Linked DNA regions of Homo sapiens: region 1 is linked to region 2. The links are contacts of gene promoters, found by promoter capture Hi-C in blood cells and fetal thymus (Javierre and others, 2016). All regions are on one chromosome and are shown on one strand. The core of a region is centred on a gene start or on the middle of the fragment in contact, and the rest is flanking DNA. Distances in the headings are between cores, read along the strand shown.

What was found. Contacts are between HindIII fragments. The CHiCAGO score rates a contact against its expected background, and 5 or more counts as called.
Region 1: a fragment that was not itself captured here is called in contact with the fragment with the promoter of NTS in region 2 in 1 of 17 cell types (endothelial precursors); the score reaches 5.5 in endothelial precursors.

The regions. Positions count from the first base shown.
Region 1 is chr12:87,992,395-87,995,655 of GRCh38, forward strand. C12orf50 (chromosome 12 open reading frame 50) reads right to left here. Exons shown (of 13, transcript NM_152589.3): 7 at 2,239-2,349. Among named protein-coding and RNA genes, the nearest start is that of C12orf50, 35 kb to the right of the region's middle. The HindIII fragment of the contact is 1,785 bases long and covers 654-2,438 here.
Region 2 is chr12:85,872,662-85,875,716 of GRCh38, forward strand. It overlaps NTS (neurotensin), which reads left to right and starts at 1,634. Exons shown (of 4, transcript NM_006183.5): 1 at 1,634-1,815. The coding sequence starts at 1,743. The HindIII fragment of the contact is 11,906 bases long and covers 21-3,055 here.

The DNA of each region.
Region 1 (3,261 bases), core at 296-2,795, 2.1 Mb after region 2:
CAACTGTGTGTATATATATACTATATACATAGAGAGAGAAATGCCCACGTTTGTTTTCATATATATGTACACATATACAGTATATGTCTTACATGTAGATATGTGTGTATATATGTGGTATATATCTATCTATCTATAGAGATTTACTGCTACAATCAACATCATGGATCAGTCTAATACAAAGAGCATTAAGTAAAAGAATCCAAACTAAGAGTTCAAACTGTATATTTCCACTTATATAAAGGTCAAAAAATGCAAAATTAGCCTATAGTAATAGCGACCAGAGTACTGGTTACCACTGGGAGAAGACTATTGACTTGGAGAGAAAGAGCCATCTGGAGTACCATAAATATGGTTATATTGATACATACACAAGTAAAATTTTAACAAGCTATTCACTTCAGATCTGTGAACTTTATTAAAGTGCAATAACACATTAAAATAATATTAAGACAAGACAATGCCTCAAGTATTTTTCTTGAAATGAATACTAATTCATTAATTATAATTTCAGTTTTGATCATCTTCATTTCAAAGATGTCTTATGAATGCAGGAGCCTAAATATGTTTAGATATATCTATCATATACACATACCCAGAAGATTATTTTATCTAGTGACACAGAGAACATTATGATGCCTGGAAAATCAATAAGCTTGACTATACCAGAACTTAGTATACCAGATAATGGAATTTTTTAAATATTCTTTTAGTATGGTTTTTCAACTAGTTCATTACTCTAACAATATTATTAATATTAGGCTAATGACAGTATAATGACATTCTCACATTTTCTAACTCCCAACAAAGTAGGTAATATATTATTAATGTTACAACGTGAAGGAAAGTTTATTTTTATATGAAACCATTAGTCTATCAATGGTTAAAAATAACCTTTTATTAACCAAAAAAGCTATCTGATTTAATGATATTTCAACAAACTGTTCGATTAGAACTGCTCGGGTTAAGTGGATCCCACTTATATAGGTTAAATAGACAGTGGGAACTCCGTTAGGAGAGACTGCCAGTGTTTCTAATTTGTAGCTAAAACTTATTGCTTCAAGGCAACCAAACAATTACAGCTAGACTAAAACAATTACAGCTAGACTAAAACAGCTAGACTAAAACTGCTGCAGATGTAAGAAAGGAGAAAAAATAATCAAATTACCTTAGCACCAAAAAAAAAGGGCAGTGGGGGGCACACAGAAGAAAATGGCTGACACCAGGACAGCAGAAAGTATCACCAATATGCCTAAGAGATACTGGTACTTACTGATACCTGCTCTCAACCTCCTTCCTACTCTTCACACACATTCTTCCCATCAGCCACACCTTTCAACCTCCCCACAAAATCTCTATATATTTTCAAAACAAACGCTTGGAATTTTCAGTCAAAGGACAGATTTTCCAACATGTTTATGCTAAAAAGCAGTTCCAAAATATTTAAGCTATAATACACAGTTAGAATGTGATGACAAATGATATATATTTGAATATAGCTCCTTTAAAGTAGACTTTAAGTCCACTGGGCTCGGTGGCTCGTGCCTGTAATCCCAGCACTTTGGGAGGCCAAGGCGGGCAAATCACCTGAGGTAAGGAGTTTGAGGCCAGCCTGACCAACATGGTGAAACCCCGTCTCTACTAAAAATACAAAAATTAGCCGGGTGTGGTGGCACGCACCTGTAGTGCCAGCTACTTAGGAGGCTGAGGCAGGAGAATAGCTTGAACTCGGGAGATGGAGGTTGCAGTGAGCCGAGATCGCACCACTGCACTCCAGCCTAGGTGACAAAGTGAGACTTCCATCTCATAAATAAATAAATAAATAAATAAATAAGTAGATAAATAAAAAGTAGACTTAATCAAATGATTTATTAAGTGCCTCCTTCATTTATAGCTCTGTTATAGTATATTACAGCACATACATAACACCTGAATTCATTATAGTCTGGAGTTGAGCCTACACACAGACACACACACACACACATACATGCACACACACACACAGGTTTCTCATTAAAATATGAAAAATGGAATGTCTTATACACTGAACACAAATTCGCACAAGGTATTTGGCAGAGATTTTGGTCTCTGAAAGCAACTGATTTTGTGATATACCTCCAAACTCTTGTGTTAAACATGACATGGACAAAAAAAGAAAATTAGTTGTAAAAGATAAAATTCAGACTCATTTATTATGTGGTGATATATTCAGGGTCAATCAGTAATAAATTAACTCACCTCCATTTTCAAAAGCAGCAATGTCAGTCTTTGGTTTCCCATGCAATGATGTTTTTATTTCACCTTGCCTTTCATATTGGCTAAGTTTTGTCGGAACTGTAAGACTATCTCCTAGAAATAAGAAGAAAAAAAAGTCACCCCAGAAATTATTAGATGCTTAAATAAGAAATTTATGATAGAATGCATGATGAAAGTAAAAAAGCTTTAAAGTTAATGCAAGTATTGTTTGCACAGTGATCTGATAAACAATAAATTAATAAATACATGAGTTTTAAATTCTGTGTCAACAAAGAAGTAAGCAAGTATATTCTCCTATTTGGATTATTTATTCAATGGCAATTAAAAATTGTAAGCAATCTAACACTATTGTATATACATAATATATCTAGTTTGATATGTTTCTCATATAAGGAATTTTGTAATATTACTTTTGATTTTATCTGTTCACCATGAACAATCAGATAAAAAGTATTAGAGTCACTATTGACTACAAAATGCTAACTACACTGATAATTAAATAATACTCTCAGCTTTCCCCATGCATTTCTGGATAATTTTCTTCTAAAATAAACTATTAAAAGCAAAATAAAAGAGACATGACAACCTAATGCAATGTGTGATTCTGGATTGGATCCTAGACTAGGGGAAAAAATTTATTTTACTATAAAGCACATTAATGGCATAATTGGTAAAATTTGTGGGAAAAGAAGGTTATAAATGATATTCTATCAGTGGTTATTTTCTGATTTTTATATTTATACTACAGTTAATGTAAAAGCAAAGAGGTATCATGTCTGTAACTTATTCTCTCGAACAATTCAGAAGATTATAATAACAATGTGTATATTTAGAGAGAGTGAAAATTCAAATGTGGTAAAATGCTAACGTTTGAAGGAAATCTAGGTGAAGGGTATATAGGAATTAACCAAAACTATTTAAAAATAAACAGCCTTTTAAAGCATAATATAAAGCAAAAGTACATATAATTGTCTTTATAATCTGCCCTTTTTAATGTTCATTGCT
Region 2 (3,055 bases), core at 384-2,883:
AGTGAAAACCAAGTGTTTCAAGCTTCCATTGCTCCCCCTAATGGTAGGAAAGCAGAAAACATCTAGACGTATGTATTTCACATTTGTCAACTAAATACTTTACAGAAACCTTCCTCCATGTGAGTATGTTCAATATTGTGTTTTATGTAAGTTCAGAAAACAAACTAAAAGTAATAAATATATCAGTTATTATTAAATTTCTGGTATTATATGAAAGACTCCTTGCTATTCTAAGTAATTATTAAATGTTTGGATTTAATCGCTTTGCTTAAGTTTTGGGTAAAGGTGAAAAAGTTAAACTCATAGATTGTATAATATAAATCAATTATCTATAGGAACCAATCCTATTTTTTCTCAACTGTTACTACATGATTGATTTATTTAAAAATTAAACAAGACTCAGACAACTTTACATTCAAATATTCACATCTCTAACAGCACTGACTTGTCAAATTACCCCATGTATCTTGAAATGCTTACTACAAGAAGAAAGTTTTACTCTAAAAGGCATTTTGAACAATTTTCTTTTGAGAACTCAGACAAAGAATGGGTATCAGTGTAACTCATGAAATACATGAAGACTATCATAGAAAAGTGACTTTGGTGAATGGTGGTTATTTAGGATTGTCTCCTTTCCAAAAGTACAATCTCTTTTTTTATGGTGAAAAGAGTATTATAACAGGGAAAGAAAGCCGATGCAATAGTAAAAACTGTTGAGAAGGGAATTATACAAAGAGTGAGACATGGCATCAAGAATGAATTCAAAAAGAGCAGAAAAATATAGGCATAAAAAGAGATAATGTACAGAAAAAAAGTCAGTGATACAACAACACAAATTTTTACCTGCTAGAATGTAAGTAATTTAGAGCTGGATTTTATAAACATGAAATTGTTTTTCTAATACATTCAACCAAAAGTCAGCACACATAGTTCAGTCATCTCTCATTACTTACAATAAAATATTTTCTATTTGTTAGGAAATAATATCTTATTCCCTGGATCTATTATTTCTTTTTATTGATTTTCTTTCTATTCTCTAAACTTAATTGCTTAATTTTTATAACTGATTCTCTGTCTCTATTCCATCTTATTCCAGCATGGATTATTTAAAACCTGTATTAGTTTTGGAACCACTAAACATTTGCTCAGAAGTTTGAATTACCAGAGAAGCACCCTAACTCTTCAAGAACTTCCAAGCCTAAGGAATCACTGATTTCATGCATTCATCCTGGAGATTTTCCTTAAAAATTAGAAATAACAGATCTCATGTTTCACAAAATCAAAATGACAACTTTTGGAGTGGGGGAATGAGAAGTGGGAAAAGGATGATACTGGGGGTTCTTTGTCAGTATGCTGTATGTATGCTGTATGTCAGTGCAGTTGAATGACTCCTTCTGTGCGTCAGAAATCCAAAGCAGCAGCAGCAGCAATTAGGGAAGATCGTCACTTTCACTCAAGGTTCAGAAATGGGGGAGGAGAGCAGGGGGGACAAAGGAAAAGGGGAGGAGAAAGCAGGGCAAAGAGGGGAGGGATGGAGGTGAAGATAGGGCACATCCTGCAAAGATAATGTCTGTACAATCAATGACATCATCCTCCTGCTTATATATATAGGGGAATGGCCAGAGCACCTCTCATAGTTCACTCACTTTCAAAGCCAGCTGAAGGAAAGAGGAAGTGCTAGAGAGAGCCCCCTTCAGTGTGCTTCTGACTTTTACGGACTTGGCTTGTTAGAAGGCTGAAAGATGATGGCAGGAATGAAAATCCAGCTTGTATGCATGCTACTCCTGGCTTTCAGCTCCTGGAGTCTGTGCTCAGGTAAGCAAAACAGAATTTCACAACTCCCTGAAGTGATTTCTTTTTTCTCTTTTGCAGTGTGTTGCTACTTATGTTAATGTATCTGGGGAGAAGAGTTGCTCCCTTTTATTCAGGATTTACCTTTTAGTGACAGAAACTGAGTATCTCTTTCTCTGCCTTTATGATTACTGAGAGATGTATTTTCTCTTTTAAAATCTGCAAAGCAATAAAAGGGATTTCAATGAAACACTGCACGACCTCCTTTGGAATTCAACAACTAGAGGGAAAAAAACCCTACAAAACTTTCAATTAGGCTGATCATTATCTAATGAGAAATACAGAGGCAGTGGCTGTCAACCTGCAAACCCATCATTAAATCCCATTCCATTCAAAATGTTTTACTCTCATCCTCATTCATTCTCTTAGGAAGCGGTGGCCCTCACGCCCTTGTAATAGTCCCCGTATTATTTTCTTGTTTGTGTTAAGATAACAAATAAAGTGAAAATTGATACTTAGTGAAAAATGAAGCATTATTTGTAGAAAATTATTTCTAGAAAAATACAAAAATATTCCAGATCCTTTTTGAGAACAGAATTTGCATAGTCTAATAAGTGTGCTATTAATATAACTGTTTGGCATTTTTTCCATGCCATTTAAGTTAATACAAAATACAATTGGAAAATTGGTATTCTTATATTGATGGAAATTATTTGACTTTAGAGTGTTTTGCATGTGGTTTGAAAGAAGTTATATAGTCCTAAGTATCTACGAATAACTCACTTTGAAAATAAGACTTAAATTGAAAGGTATAACATGAAATATTACAACCATTGCAAAAGGCTCTACTTAATATTTAAGAAATATTACAATGAACACTTCAAAGGGAAAAGAACACATTAGGAAGCAAATGCAGCAAAAATAATTTAACCTGTTCTGTGCTTTTATGTATCATAAATATGACATGGAAATGTTTAACTCAAACTCATGCTATCATTTGATTTAAATTATGAAATTAAAATCTAAGAAGATATAAATGTGATTTATACAAAATTTTAAATTTATTTTAATCATCAGAACATAACTTTCAGCTTCTACTTTTTAAATCTTATGAGAAAAAACAAACTTTTCTATAATTATGATTTTATCTGAAAGTTATATGAGATTAAAGATTCACATACTTCTGGAAGAAAAACTGGGTTATTGATTAAGCACTGTGTTTATTAACTTGAAACTACTTGTTGTAATAATGCAATAGTTATAA